Linked DNA regions of Homo sapiens: regions 2, 3, 4 and 5 are each linked to region 1. Evidence: promoter capture Hi-C in 16 types of primary human blood cells and fetal thymus (Javierre and others, 2016). All regions are on one chromosome and are shown on one strand. The core of a region is centred on a gene start or on the middle of the fragment in contact, and the rest is flanking DNA. Distances in the headings are between cores, read along the strand shown. Region 1 holds the start of SLC9A4 (solute carrier family 9 member A4). Region 2 has its middle 61 kb from the start of IL1RL1. Region 3 overlaps SLC9A2 (solute carrier family 9 member A2). Region 4 overlaps SLC9A2 (solute carrier family 9 member A2). Region 5 holds the start of IL1RL1 (interleukin 1 receptor like 1).

Region 1 (2,925 bases), core at 219-2,718:
TTTGGTTTTTGACACAAAGATCCCTTGATTGGAATTTAATCTATTAACTTGGATTCACTTTATTTCACAAAGGAAATTAGAGGTGCCTCACTGGCCCCACTTGGTAGGTATAAACTAATATTTTACTGACAGATATAATCTTATATGCCCCGACATCCCATCACTGAGTAATACAAGTTGCCTATGGTTTTCTTGTTTTTTGCTTTCTGTCAATTTGCAAGAAGCACACGCTACTTTTAAAGAATAAACAATGGGGTGATTGATGAAGCCCACAATTACACAGCCAAGAATATTTTACAGAAGAAACATTATGTGTTTCCTGAAATTTCCACCTTGCATCATGCCCAGGTCTACGTGCTTTATTCTCTATATTTTTAAAGCATAGAATTTGAGAGTTTTGCATGTCAACAATGTCACATGGTTGTCACCCTGAAATGAGAAGAAACCAACACAGCCCAGTACCCAGAAGTATGCTCTCAAATTTCAAAGAGCAATCTCAAAGTATTAAATAGCTTAGTAAAATGCAGTTATGACTTTCCCTTGACTGAAGGGAAGAGAATTTTTAATGTAATAGCAGTAACAGTTAAAATCCTCTTAGCCCGTTATCTATAAGGCATTTTCACATTCACTATCTTATGTAAAAAGATAACTCACCAAACCAGGTGTTTAAGGACTTACCTATTTTTGCAAGGGATGCTAGAAGTATCCAGAGAGTGACCTCATAAGGAATTTGCACATAGTCATAATCCAGTTCAAAAACAGATATCCCTTCCTCTGGCTCTGAGCTGGCAGCAGCAAACCAAGCGTTAGATGCATACTGAGCAGTGGAATTTGCAGATTCATTCAAATCAGAAGATGCTTCAGAACACTCAAGAGCCACTAGCAGTAGCAAACAATTCCAAGGACTGTAAGTCACGAACATCTGCAGAGCCATTCCTGTGGGCTTCTCCTACCTACACCCCTGTGTGGATGTGTGCCACACATCTGAAGTCGGGGAGGCTTCTAGAGAGTGACTGCATCCACCTGGGTCAAAAGTAATATAGGTACAGTCTGTGGGTCCTCCCAAGAAGATTCCGAGTGTGTTATTGAGCTCTGTATGTAGACACTTTCTAATCTGGTTTAAATCGTTTGTGTTCAGGCAACTCAGCTTCCAACTCAAATGCAGTTATTCAATAGACTTGTTAAAGTCCATGGAGCTACCTGGAGGACCTCCATCCAATCATGGCTTGAGCAATTTATGAAAGAAATAAAAATCTCTTCACTTAAAGGCATTTCCTCATTTCACTGCATACTGGCTTTGTCTTGTGGGTGAAAATTTAAAAGGATACTGTAGTGCTCATTCCACAGATCACTGGAGTCCTTCTAATGAGGAAAGGAAACCTTCCCTGTCTATCAGATCCCAAGAAGGAGCTACCTGATCTGCGCTTGTTCCTTCTCTCCTCCCCCTGTCCTCTCATTTGTTTTGAATGACCACGGCTTCAGGTAGCTCTGGAACTACACTTAATTATTTGCTTTGATTTGACTTTTGTAATGAAATCCTTTCTCTGAGGGTTCTCTGGAGGTCACACTGCTGACACCTAGTGGGCACCTGCAATACAACACCCTTGACACTTTCAGTTATGAACGTTAAGGTGACCATGAAATTATCTAAACCAGGACACTTTGGGGAATGAATAATAATGATAATTATGCAAAGCTATAGGCACAAACCAGAATTGTCCAGCAAACTGTCTTATATGGTCTCTATACATGAGGAAGAAGGAGGATAAGAAGGAGGTGGTAACAACAAGGATGGTAGCAAACACTGAAACTTTTGCATGTTACCAGACTCCATGAGCAGTCATTCATAGAAGGAATGAAGTTCCAGATCTCTATGAACTTTACACTATAATTTTTAAAAAACAGGAAGCCAAAGAACAAGTTCCATAAATACACCTAAATACCTGGATTTGTAAAACTCCATGGCACATCCAGATTTTCCATTTAAAAAACATTTGTTGTTGTTAAAAAGAAGCAGCATCATAGAATGTTGATGAAAGAATTTTGAGATAATTTTTATGAGCCTACTTCTCGCTCTTCTACTTGTTGCCAGGTGACCTTGGTGAAGTTAATTACCTTTCAGAAATTCCTTATCTGAAACAGAGAGGAAAATATCTGCCTCATTGAGTAGCTAGGAACATTAAATGAGATAAAGCAAGTAAAGAATTTGGCATGTAGTTGGCACTTAAATGTTAGTTTTTATTTTAAATTACATTTCTTATACTTTTAGGATAAGATACAACACTTTTGCAATGATTACTGATACTCAGTAAAAAATGAGAATAATACATCATCCATATACTACCCCAACATCTCTTTTACATCAAACTGCAAGATGCTTTGTGTTTTGTTTTTTCTTAGTTCATATTAGTGAGTGCAGGGGATTTCCCCCCAGCCAACACACACACACACACACACACACACACACACACACACACACACACACTCAGCTAACATCACTGGGAAATTGAGAAAGGAATGGTTGAGAAGGGCTAACACCTAGATGCAAATTCATAGTGAGGCAATAGAATTAAAAGTTCACATATGAATATTTTTTCTTTTTCCTTCAGTTTGACTCCAGAATAGATTAGATTCAGTCACTGAAATGAGACTATCAGGTGGACTACAAGAAGGGTACACATATTGAGTCGATTATTTTTTCTCAAAGAATATATGAATATCCTTTAATAGAAAGCTGCTTTATAATAGGTGTTTTATTTTTATTTGCATTTTATTGTACTTTTCTTTCTAAAAAGAAATGAGGGAGCAAGTCTCACATAGTGCCTTGTGGAAAGACCAAAATGAAGAATCAAAAGACTTATGTACTCAGACATTAGTTATCTGATTGGCTTTGGAAAATTACCTGTTTGAGCCTTATAGTTTGAG
Region 2 (2,925 bases), core at 171-2,670, 220 kb after region 1:
AATAAATATTTAAAGATTTAAAAAAAGTATTTTAAAGAGTAAAGCTTCAAACCAAGGAATACGGGGACCAAGGGTAAGCTAGGAAACGCCCAGGTCTGCTCTGACGCGCCCCCTGCAGGACCCCGTCCAGACATGCAGGAGAGGCAAGGCGCTGGTGCGCGCTTGGGGCATTTTGCCTTCCCTCCTACCTGCCCTCTCCTGACCCAAGTTCTAGCCCCACCTGCTTTGTCACCACCGCCAGCCTATGGAAGTTCCCTCTCTGGTCCTTCCTGTCCCATGGGTAAAATGGACCTAGCATGTCTAATTGCGCATGTTCCCGCAGTGATGTGAAGGACTGAAGGGCTTTGAACGCTGCGCTGTCTTAAGGGAAGGTGCCTGGGGCACTGACTTCGTCCCCTTTTCCCAGATCCTGCTCAGAGCCGCTCCCCCAGGCCCCCGGCCTCTAACTGTATCCTAGCCCTCTGATCAGCCTTTGCCTACTGAGGGCAAAACTACAGGGTACAAGAATAGGGGTTGCTATGTCCCCCCATTTCCTTTGTCTTCCATTTCCCCGTTCGCTCCTAAACCCTGAGACGGGGCCCTGTGCCAACTCGCGAGGGGCTCCCGGCTTCACGGGGGGCGCAGGTCACAAAGCACGTTCCGCCCTGGAACGCCCTGAGGAGATAAAAGCCGCGCAGGCCCCGCGCTCGCCGCGCACTCCGACCGTTCCGACGAGGGAGCTTTGCACTCGCTGAAAATGACTCGAAAGCTGCCCCGCCTCTCCGCCTCCCAACCCCGGCGCCCGCTCGGCGCCACCCCGCAGCTCCCTGGCAGTCGGCTCTTCTTTCCTCCCATCCGTCCCCCGTTTCTGGACCCGCAGACTACGCTCCTGTTCCAGCCCACCTACTCGTCCTTCTGCCCCATCTGCTACCCGTCTCTGAACCAATTCGTCCCCGTCCACTACCCCGTCTTGGGCATCGCCCTGCCGAGCTCTTCCTGCCTGAATCTTCATAAGATCTGCATCTGCCGCCCTCATGTCCGTTGGGGCCCCAACTTCCACTACGTCCCTCCCTATCCCCCCACGCCCCCGCCCAGCCCCTGCTTTTAGAAGCTGCCTACAGCCCGCCCCCGCCCAGCCACCCACGCGGCCCTGACGATCCACGACCCCACGGAGGGGCCCCTGCAGGCACCGTGCTCGGGCAGCGAAGGAGCGGACCCTAGGGTCCCCGCGGCCTGGCTGTGGACACGGGGACGCAGGACCACGGACACCCACCCTCGGCCTCCGCTGCCTGCTCAGCCAGCCGCGCCAGCCTCTGCATTTGGCAATGGCTTCCCCGTGGGCCTTGGTCTGGAACCACGGAGCAAACTGCAGGCCCGAGACAGAGAAGGGAGAGCACGAGGAAGCAGCGCCTCTGCTCGCTGGGAGAGAAACGACTGGCCAAGGTGAGGCCTAACCACATGCCCATGACCTCCGGGTCTGTCCCGTGACAGGAAGCCCTTTCCTGGAGGTGTCCACGGGCGGTTGGGGTAAGGGCTGGGTCGCCAGGAGCTGGGGCTGTGGGAGTGCTGTAGCCTGGAGACCGTGTGGGACACCGTTGCCTGGAGAAGGCAGAAGCCCGGGGCCAGGGAGAGAGGCACAAGGGAGCAGAGAGCGCATCGAACCCGATGGAGCAATGCCAAGGCCATGGCGGGACACCCCAGGGAGAAGGTGATCCAGGATGAGGTCCGTCAGAACCAGATCTTGCAGGAGCTGTACCTCAAAGGGCTACCAGCCCAGAACGTCTATGCGCGGTATCACGTGAACCCCTCCACGAGGTCCACAGATCACCAGGAAGCCCATGTCTTGGCATGGTAACCTGGAGGAGCCTGGAGACGCCAGGTTTCGGAATCTCATTCACCACGCTGCCCAGGGACCAAGGAAGAGGGACCCAGACACAGACCGAAAACCAGGAAAGTGCATGGGACTCAGTGCCCCCCCCTCAACCCAGAATGCCCAGATTGCAGGCTGAACCACTGCAGGGTCTGCAATGACATCGCTCTGTACAAGGCTCAGATGTGGAGCCTGGGAGGAGATGATGGCCACCAGTGGCATCCCAGCAGTGGACTGAGGCGCCGGATTTCATGCCTTAAGTGTGCACTGCCCCCAAAAATAAATTTTTTATGTTACTTTTGAGCCATTGTATAATTTATACCCAAACACACTTATGATAGGAACCCCAAACCTAGTATGGCTTTTTAATCTCTTTTCCAAGGAGAGAAACTTACATGATTTCATAGAAAAATTCACATTGCTACAGTGATATCAATCAGAAAGAAGTCTGCAGGAAAAGACTAACATATTGAGGCTTGTATTTGTTAGGATTATTTCCATTGTGAGAAACAGAAACCAAATTTAAGCAGAAATGAGAAATAGTTAACTCCTAAACTTCAGAGTTCCAAGGAATTCAGGCATGACAGGATCCAGGGACTCAAACAATGTCACAGATCTCTCTTGGTCTCTCTTTCCTTCTCTGATTCTGCTTATCTCTTGACTCTTCACTTTTGACATGATTCATTCTTGACGCTAACAAAATCTATCCTTGTGGAAGGAAAGACTGCTACCAGCAAAGCTATACCCACATTTCAGAGACAGAGTAGGAGAGGGAGCAAGAGAGAGACAATTTTTCCCACCTAATCCAGCTGAAAAGAATCTCCGAGGATTTAGGTTCATCTATCCTGTGTTGCAAAGCTGCCTACAAACTGTGCAAGCTGTACCATGTTAGGGTTGACCAAGCCTGGGCATGGACTCACAGGAGCCAAATGCACACAGGAAGCTTCCTAGTGGAATCAAAGGAAGGGTGAGAAAATGTACTGCTCATACCCAAAGTGTAGTCTATTACAAACTTACACATTCTCCGGGAATAAACTATAGAGTAGGAGGGAAACTGTCACTTAGGGGCACTATGG
Region 3 (2,925 bases), core at 249-2,748, 220 kb before region 1:
GGAATCCCAAATTTACATCTCCCACTCTGGCTTCTCCCCCAAATTCCAGACTCATATATATGTGTGTATATATACATATATATATAACTGCCTATCCAACATCTCCACTTAGATGTCTAATAGGCAAATATATATGTCCAAAATGGACACATCCAAAACTGAGCACATGATGTCCCATCCTTCAAACCTAATACTCTCCAGGTAGTCCCCACCAAATTAAATGTCACCTTCATTCCCCTGGCTGCGCAGTCAAAAACACATGGAACTGTCTTATACTGCTCTTCTTCTCATATCCTAAACTTTTCACCTACATTGTTCCATCTTAAAAAAGCCTGATCATCTTGCTCGTTTTATTGTAGGATTGTTGTAAAGTATTCTAAATTCTATGGAACCCCACCTAATAATGGCATATGTTAATGAAATATAAAGATGGTGTCCTTTTTAAACAGTACATATATAAAAATATGACCATTTATTTGACAAATGAAGGCACATTTGAGGGTCTTCACAAGGTCTATAAAATAGTGAGCATCATCATTCCAGTTGGAGAGGCTAAATCAGCAAAGATTCATGTAATTGCTGGGAGAGGCTACCCCACCATGGGCCCTAAGCACCCCAACATGTTCTTGCAGGGGATGCCAAGAATGTCAGGCCTTGATGACTTTTTTACCTGGAGCATTTCTTAGGGTTGCAAGCAATGAGCACTCTTGAGAAATGAAGTAAGGTCACCCTTCTGAGAGAGCAATATATCCCCAAACTCAAATATATCCCCCTCCTGCAATACAGCCCATGACATGGGCAGACATCCATCGCGGGTCCCTTGTGTCACCCCCATGGGACAAGGAGGTGTGGAAAACTGACACAAACCAACACAAGGCTGTGGCTACAGCTCTTGTCATGGACAATAAAGTCCTTTGTCTCTGACTCAGGAGTCTTCTGTAGCATTCATGAAATAGTAACAGGCGAACTTGTTAGCTTACAAGTATAATAAAACCCCAGATGCTTCGCAGTTCTGCACCGTGACTTAACCTAAGTTACATCACTAATGTGCAAAAGAGGCTGCTATCTCTTGAATTTTGGTTAACTTTCCCACTTGATGGACTTCTAGATAACCACTTAGTACGTTTACAGAATTCTTGAGATCTGCCCCTTTTTATTATAGGGATTAACTACATAATAATTATTGTATTCTAATCATTTTTCCTTCCAAAGAAAAATATATTGAAAGAACTTACCTTTTTCTTTCTTTCGTTACAAGTTTTCTTTCTTTTTTTGTTTGTTTGTTTGTTTTGAGACAGAGTCTTGCTCTGTCGCCAGGCTGGAGTGCAGTGGCAAAATCTCGGCTCACTGCAACCTCTGACTCCCTGGTTCAAGCGATTCTCCTGCCTCAGCCTCCCGAGTAGCTGGGATTATAGGCACGTGCCACCATGCCCAGCTAATTTTTGTAGTTTTAGTAGAGACAGGGTTTCACCATGTTGGCCAGAATGGTCTTGATCTCCTGACCTCGTGATCCACCCGCCTTGGCCTCCCAAAGTGCTGGAATTACAGGCGTGAGCCACTGCACATGGCCTCGTTATAATTTTTCTTAATGTAGTATATTAAACATGGCAACTCGTGAGGCAAAAACCCTGTGTCAGGTGTCATACTCTATACACATATTTCCCCTGAGCTGCCTGGAGCATTGTCTAGATTTTACAGCTAAGTAAACTGAGGCCCACAGAGGCTGCAAAAAGCAGGCTTAGAGTATCAACCCACAATAGTCTTACTCTAAAACTGCACTTTATGTAACTGTATTTCACCCTCCCCAATTTTGAATATAATTTACATGTATGAGAAATAGCTTATATTTGATATAAATAACATTACCAATCATATTGGAAAAAAATGAACTCAAATGTCCAAGGAATCAGAATTGTTTCCTCATTCAATATTCCACGGCCGGGCATGGTGGTGCTCGCGCTTGTAATCCCAGCTCTTTGGGAGGCCAAGGTGGGTGCATTACTTGAGGCCAGGAATTCAAGACCAGCCTGGCGAACACAGCGAAACCGCATCTCTACTAAAAATATAAAAATTAGCTGGGCGTGATGGTGGATTTCTGTAATCCCAGCTACTCAGGGAGGCTGAGGCAGGAGAATCGCTGGAACCTAGGAGGCAGAGGTTGCAGTGAGCCAAGATCGTGCCACTGCACTCCAGCCTAGGTGACAGAGTGACACTCTGTCTCAAAAAAAAAAAAATTCCCCAAACAGCACCATATTCTGACAACATGATAGTGTGCCTCATAAAGGGACTACATCGCTTGCTAAGAAGCAACACGATTCAAACAATGTGAAAATTCTCATGATAAACTATGATATCAAATAATGCATCATACATCATGTGAAATCCTATTTTTGAAGATAGTTATAACTCAGTAGTACCAGGTTGGAAGAGCTTATCATATAAAATATTGAAATAAGGGGAGAAAAACATATTTAAAGTTTAGTAATTGGTCCATCAACATAAAAGTCATCGTTTGAAAAAGAATACATAATTCTTACTTGAAAGGCAATATTTTATGCATGGATGTATAATTAGTTATTCCTGCTATATTTATATCTCATCAAGTATTTCCCTCCAGGCTTCCTTCACTGAATTCCTTAATTATTGATGTATTCTGGAAAAGATATCTTTTCTGAAGGGAGTATGTGTGTATTTGTGTGTGTGGGTGCATGCACGCTTGTGCACGTGTGTGTGTTCAGAGTATCTTAAGAACCAGTGGTAGGTAGGAGAATAGGAGGAAGAGGAAGTGGTCAGAGTCATGGAACCAAGCAATATGCACGCAGTCTCCGATCTGTGCACACAGAAGGGTAGGCAGAGAAAAGGAAAAAGAAGATATCAACACAAGTGGAACCGCAGCAATTTCTCTTCTCTGTGGATATCCAAGTG
Region 4 (2,925 bases), core at 185-2,684, 160 kb before region 1:
CACAGATATGTTTTCTGAAACTCCTGGCCTCAAGCAATTCTCCTGCCTTGGCCTCCCAAAATGTTGGGATTACAGGCATAAGCCACTGCGCCCAGACTCACAGACACATTTTTAAAGAAAGTGCATCTCCACACTTGATCAAAAGGCTGAGAAGCAGTGGAAAGTGCCTCTCTTTAGTGAGCATAAGGAACACTTTCATTCAAGACATCAATAATTGCCAGGACCATAACTGATGTACCCACAGAGTTTACCTTTCACAGACGATGAACTCATTGTGTGACTTAACACAGTGCCTCCTGAGTGCAATCCCAGCTCAGCTTCCCTTTGGCTTGTGCTTCTTATTCAAGGTGGGAAGCATAAACCCCTTTCCCTTAGATATTCCATAGTGTCCTTCCCACATTTGTCAATGGTCAGAGTATGTCAACCATTTCTATTTATTTGTCTTTTTGTAACATGATCAATTTCTGAGAATAATACTCATTTTGATCAGTGTTAACTTGACTATAAAACATATTCCAACTGATCCTGAGTCCCTAAGTGTCCCACATAATCAGCTCAGCCCTTTTAAATATACCCAGGTATAAAGACAAGAAGCAAAATTTCATGTAACATGAAAAGTCTGAAGCAGAGTTTGCAAGCTTGCAGGCCACGAGCCACCATGGCCTTCACGCCTATTTTGTTGGGCCTATCTAGTGGGTTCAAAGATTGAGCTCATATTGAGAAACTGAGAGGATCCACATGTAAATTCTTCTGTCCAAGTTATCTTGGAAAATCAGCAAAACTGGGCTTTTGTCACCCATCTTATGCCAATTTCTGCAAAGTGGCCATCAGCTGGAGCTTGGGCAGGGCAAGAGCTGGCTGTCCAGCTTGCTCCCCGTAACCCCTCCCATCTCTCAGGGCATGAAGAGGCACCAACAGGGCCCACACTGACAGCTACATGTCTATCTTTTTAGACTCCTTCCTTCTAGTCTCAACCACAGCAATGAGAACACAACTTAGGCAGAGATTCCATGAATTAGGTAACAGATTTCCCATCCTTTAAGCAGATGAGTGAGGGACCATCTCCTCACGGGCCAGGGGTGCCTCCCTGTCCCAGCTGGGGCACTGCAGTTGGTTTTTATCAATGGGGTGAGATCTCTGGCAGGTCCAGTACAGCACACAGAGCTGGTGAAGTTCACTTCTGCAGGTAGGTGGCTCTGCTGCCCTGGGAGTCTCTTTTTCACTGGAGGCAGCTGAATCCTACTCTGATACCCAAGCCAGGGTTGGGCGCAGGATTTGACTCATGCCCTGGTCACCTCACTGCCTGCATTATATTCTTTCTGTAACCCACACCACACCCACTGGACAGCTCGGAAATGATCACTGGCTTAGTTGTGCTGGCACTGCAACTGTGCCCCAGGAAATAATAACGATGGCACTGGCCAGTTTTCAAAGTATTTCAGCATGTATTCTATCTGGGTGTGAAACTTGTGTCTCCCAAGCTGAGAAAAGGACTCTACAGATGGCAAGGGAATTTCTCATACAGCCAGGTGGGAAACAGGATCCTCGCTATTAAATACTGAGAGCTGCCCTTGGACATGCGGAGTATTCTTATTTAGAAAACTCTGGGACTCCAGTTTCCTGTGAGGAACGGCAGGTGAAGCAGTCACAGAGCTTGCTCTCAGTCTGTTAGGACTGCAGGTATAGGTCTCACAGCTATGAAACAGATTCAACGGATCTTCGGTGATTCCACCCATCTTTAACTTTTTCATCTCCTCAAGGCTCTAAGCCCTCCACTTTTTCTTTTTCTTTTCTTCCTTTCTTCCAACCCTCCCATTTTAGAAACACAATCTGATGAAGGGGTTTGACCAAGGAAGGACTCAATTTGAAGAGATCATTCTGAAGGTAAAACTTGCCAGTGCCTAGACAGTGTTTAGGAGGAGTTACAGAGTCCAAGGGGTTGACAAGTTCTAGTGACTATTTCTGAACAGATCCTTTGCACAGCTTAGTTAAGCTGGGGGAAGGGCCACTAGGGCGTGCCAGTGCTGATAAAGACTCTGGTACACTATAACCTAGAGTCAGAACTTCCCATGCCAGCCAGCAGTTGAAAGCAATTTTTATTCTACTGCCCCAGGCTAGATGTTAAATCTTAGGATTTATCGTTCTCTCAACTCATGTGTTAGTAAACGATTTATGCCAATTTTGGCTTTGCTGTTTGCACACTGCTATCATTAAGCCATATAAAGCTTTCCAGGGACTCTACCCCACCCACCTAACCGCCTTGTGTGGGAACCATATTTTCTGTTTTCTGGTTTCTTTTCCTTCAAGAGCTTGCCTTCTAAGCAAATTTACCACTTGCTCAAAATACGTAGATCAAAGTATAGTGAAGGAACCCACAATTGCCAGTAATTGCTACCTGATTTCATTTTTCAATTAAGTGGTTGCTAACACTTAACTGCATTCACCAGTTATTTACATGGCAGGGAAATATTTGCACACTGTTGGCTCAGGCTAAACTAAGAAACTATCCCATTTGGTAAAAGACTGTATTTTCCAAGCTTGCTAGAATACTATCCCTTTCATTCCCTTTCCCTCCTCCCTGACTTCTGTTACCAAGTTGGTGGTCTTTGTCTTCCCATTTGCTTATGGTTGCAAAAATCAAAGGGGTTTCAATGAGTATGTATTGGGATGTGTATTTTAAAGATTCATGGAGATTCTTACAGTTCCATATAGTTCTACAGTCATCATAATTATTACGTTCCATTAAAATAATGGTCAAACCTACTAACACATTCAGTGGGAAAACAGAGGACTAGAGTCTTGCCAATTATACTCATTTGTTCCAAGATTTAGGAACAGTAACAGCTCCCTGGTTTTAGTGGCTTCAAAACAGAAAATTGAAACAAGACCAAATAAAAAGAAAAAGATCAAAAAAAAAAAAAGAAA
Region 5 (2,925 bases), core at 172-2,671, 160 kb after region 1:
TGAATAGTTTGGCCTCAGGATCTAGTAGGAGAACTGTTATAGCCAGACAGAAACATGCCTCCGATTTCCTTATGCCTGGAAGAAATTAAAGGAAAAACTGACATTCAGTGGATAAAGCTTTGGGGGCCAGTTCTGCTATGTTTACCTCTGCACCCTCTGTTGAAGTAGCCTTCAGAGAGAAGAAGAATGGAGCCACCAAGCAGAGGATCAAAGCAGGCACCCGCAACAAACTTGAACTTACATCAGTCATTCACTCCCCACCCCTCCAGAAACAATGGCCCTCACTCAAGAGGGCCTTCTCATATCCTCATATCCACCCCTCTCATGTCCGTTCTCTATTTTCTTCTTGCAGATGGGTATGACCCTGCTTCCTCACCCCTTTTGGCCAGCAGCTTCTTGCTTCATTTGTTTTGTTTTTTTCCTTCATCTCCATCTGAGTAGATTACACTGCTGGATTTTGTGGATTTCAGAAAGAATAACTCCAGAATATGAGCACTCTGTGTGTATACTATAAAGCTCCCATCCTTTCTTACCCTCAACCAGGTCTTTTCCAACACGTTGGACCAAAGTCCCATATTACACAAACAAGATTTCAAGGGATTTCATCAATCTGTACCATGATTTTCCCATTGGTAATACTACTTTTCTCACAAGCAAAATTGATAACAATGATTATTATTGTTATAATGTTATATATATTACATTATATATTATATTATAGGCCCTTCATTTGCATAAGGCACCAAAACACAATTAAACTCCTTTAAATTTAATTCAGCTAAAGTTTTTCTTTTAACAGAAGATTGTTTGGAAAGCTAAGTCTTCCCTCTGTCATTGAGTGAATGTTTTCCTCAATATAAATATAATATTATATATATTATATTTAATATATAATAATGTTATAACATTATAACAATAATGTTATATATATTATATATATAATATTTAATATATAATATATATTATATATAATATATATAAATATATTATATATAATATATATTATATATAATATTATATATAATATATATTATATATAATATTATATATAATATATATTATATAATAAAATATATAACATATATGATATATTATATATTATATTATATAATATATATTATATAATTATATTATATATTACAATTATATAATATATATTATATAATTGTATTATATATAATATATAATTGTTATAATGTTATAACAATTATATATTATATATATTATATATTATTATAACATATAATGTTATAATAATATAACAATGAATATTATTGTTATAATGACCTAAATTCGTATGTGAAAATTTTGTTCCCTTTGAGATAAAAGTATTTTTGAAAAATACCCCAAAGCCACTTACCCTCATTGGGTTGTACTTGAGTTCTTTCTTCCTCAACTTTCTGCCCACAGTTTCACAACTCAGAAAGCCAATTTCTCTTACAGCTTTATAGCTTTACTAAATACAACAGCCAGCCTCTCTTTAAAAACCTCCCATTTTCTTTATCAGTTAAGAGACAGGAACCAGGTTACTGATAAGCTGAACCCGATGATCACACTGTTAACAAATGTTAACTGCAGTTTTCACCACATTCTCCCTATTTGAAAGATCTTTAATGAAGTTCTATTTCCAATTTTTACCTTATCTCTATAGATAGTTACATTTTGTCTTAACTATATTTTGCCTTCTTCATGAGTGACTTTCTCAGCAAAACCTCCCTAACACCATGTAGGTGGCAGGTCACTCATTTCCCTTAACGCGAGTTGGTAGTTGTAACTTCCCTATAGTCACATTTCTAGAACAAGAGTACCCATTTCTGCAGCAAGTTGCTTATTTGGTGTTTCTTTCTTTTTTTTTTTTTTTTTTTTTTGAGGCAAAGCCTCACTGTGTCACCCAGGCTGGAGTGCAGTGGCACAATATCAGCTCACTCTGCAGCAAGTTTTGTAACTGATGCCTCGTTGGCAATGTTTTTGAAAACTTTGACACATCTCGTGTGCTTAAGTGTACACCAGGCTCTGTGTGCAGTAATTTGGTATGTGCTATCCCACGCAATCCTCAGAAGCTGACAGGAGCTTCAGAGAGGAGAATTACCTTACCCAAGGTAGCAGCCAGTACAAGGGAAATCCAGGATCCAAAGTGTCTATACCTGGGCTTTTTCCACATGCCCGAGATGGCCTATCTCAGGTGGTTGTAATAGAGATTTATGGACATGTGCTGCAATTATTAGAATTCTGGATAAACTAACCTTAATTATCTATGCAATTTCTAAAAATATTGGTGACTTTCAAATAATCAGGATGTGCCATCTGCCAGAGTCTTCCCTAATATAATAGAGCATGAGATTTAGGGAGAGCACAGCCTAGTTTTCCTCTTCCCAGCTGCTTGACTTTGGGCAAATTCTCTAACCTCTCTCTCGTGTGAAGGGTATTGTTGTCAATATTAAATCAGTAACCTATGGAGGATGCTATCCATATTGATGAAATACTAGTGATTTTCTGCTCTATCATATACCCATCCTATCACACCCAGCACAATTGTGTTTAAAATAAAAACAAACCTTCTGGCAGGGCATGGTAGCTCACGCCTGTAATCCCAACATCCTGGCCAACATGGTGAAACCCCGTCTCTACTAAAATACAAAAATTTGCTGCGTGTGATGGTGCACACCTCTAATCCAAGCTACTCAGGAGGCTGAGGCACGAGAATTGCTTGAACCCGGGAGTCAAAGGTTGCAGTGAGCCAAGACTGCACCACGGTGCTCCAGCCTTGGTGACACAGCGAAACTCTGTCTCAAAAACAAACAAACAAACAAAAAAACCCTTCAAAATGTATTTGAAAAGATGGAATGATTCATAATATGTACCATATCTAGACACCATGTTTATGTCAAGAGACTAACAAAACCTGGGTAGCACCTGACCTTCAAT

What was found. Contacts are between HindIII fragments. The CHiCAGO score rates a contact against its expected background, and 5 or more counts as called.
Region 2: a contact is called between a fragment that was not itself captured here and the fragment with the promoter of SLC9A4 in region 1, in 2 of 17 cell types (M1 macrophages and M0 macrophages). The highest score is 6.2, in M1 macrophages.
Region 3: a fragment that was not itself captured here is called in contact with the fragment with the promoter of SLC9A4 in region 1 in 1 of 17 cell types (M2 macrophages); the score reaches 5.3 in M2 macrophages.
Region 4: a fragment that was not itself captured here is called in contact with the fragment with the promoter of SLC9A4 in region 1 in 1 of 17 cell types (endothelial precursors); the score reaches 5.2 in endothelial precursors.
Region 5: a contact is called between the fragment with the promoter of IL1RL1 here and the fragment with the promoter of SLC9A4 in region 1, in 4 of 17 cell types (activated CD4 T cells, neutrophils, naive CD8 T cells and 1 more). The highest score is 7.7, in activated CD4 T cells.

What each region holds. Positions count from the first base shown.
Region 1 is chr2:102,471,769-102,474,693 of GRCh38, reverse strand. It overlaps SLC9A4 (solute carrier family 9 member A4), which reads right to left and starts at 1,468. Exons shown (of 12, transcript NM_001011552.4): 1 at 679-1,468. The coding sequence starts at 934. The HindIII fragment of the contact is 5,984 bases long and covers 1-2,925 here.
Region 2 is chr2:102,248,994-102,251,918 of GRCh38, reverse strand. It overlaps the pseudogene CFAP144P2. Among named protein-coding and RNA genes, the nearest start is that of IL1RL1, 61 kb to the left of the region's middle. RefSeq lists an enhancer at 663-1,256. The HindIII fragment of the contact is 2,748 bases long and covers 47-2,794 here.
Region 3 is chr2:102,687,093-102,690,017 of GRCh38, reverse strand. All of the region lies in intron 5 of SLC9A2 (solute carrier family 9 member A2), which reads right to left. Among named protein-coding and RNA genes, the nearest start is that of SLC67A2, 48 kb to the left of the region's middle. The HindIII fragment of the contact is 6,337 bases long and covers 1-2,925 here.
Region 4 is chr2:102,635,885-102,638,809 of GRCh38, reverse strand. All of the region lies in intron 1 of SLC9A2 (solute carrier family 9 member A2), which reads right to left. Among named protein-coding and RNA genes, the nearest start is that of SLC9A2, 18 kb to the right of the region's middle. The HindIII fragment of the contact is 1,587 bases long and covers 641-2,227 here.
Region 5 is chr2:102,310,059-102,312,983 of GRCh38, reverse strand. IL1RL1 (interleukin 1 receptor like 1) reads right to left here and starts at 1,421. Exons shown (of 11, transcript NM_016232.5): 1 at 1,361-1,421. The HindIII fragment of the contact is 5,145 bases long and covers 120-2,925 here.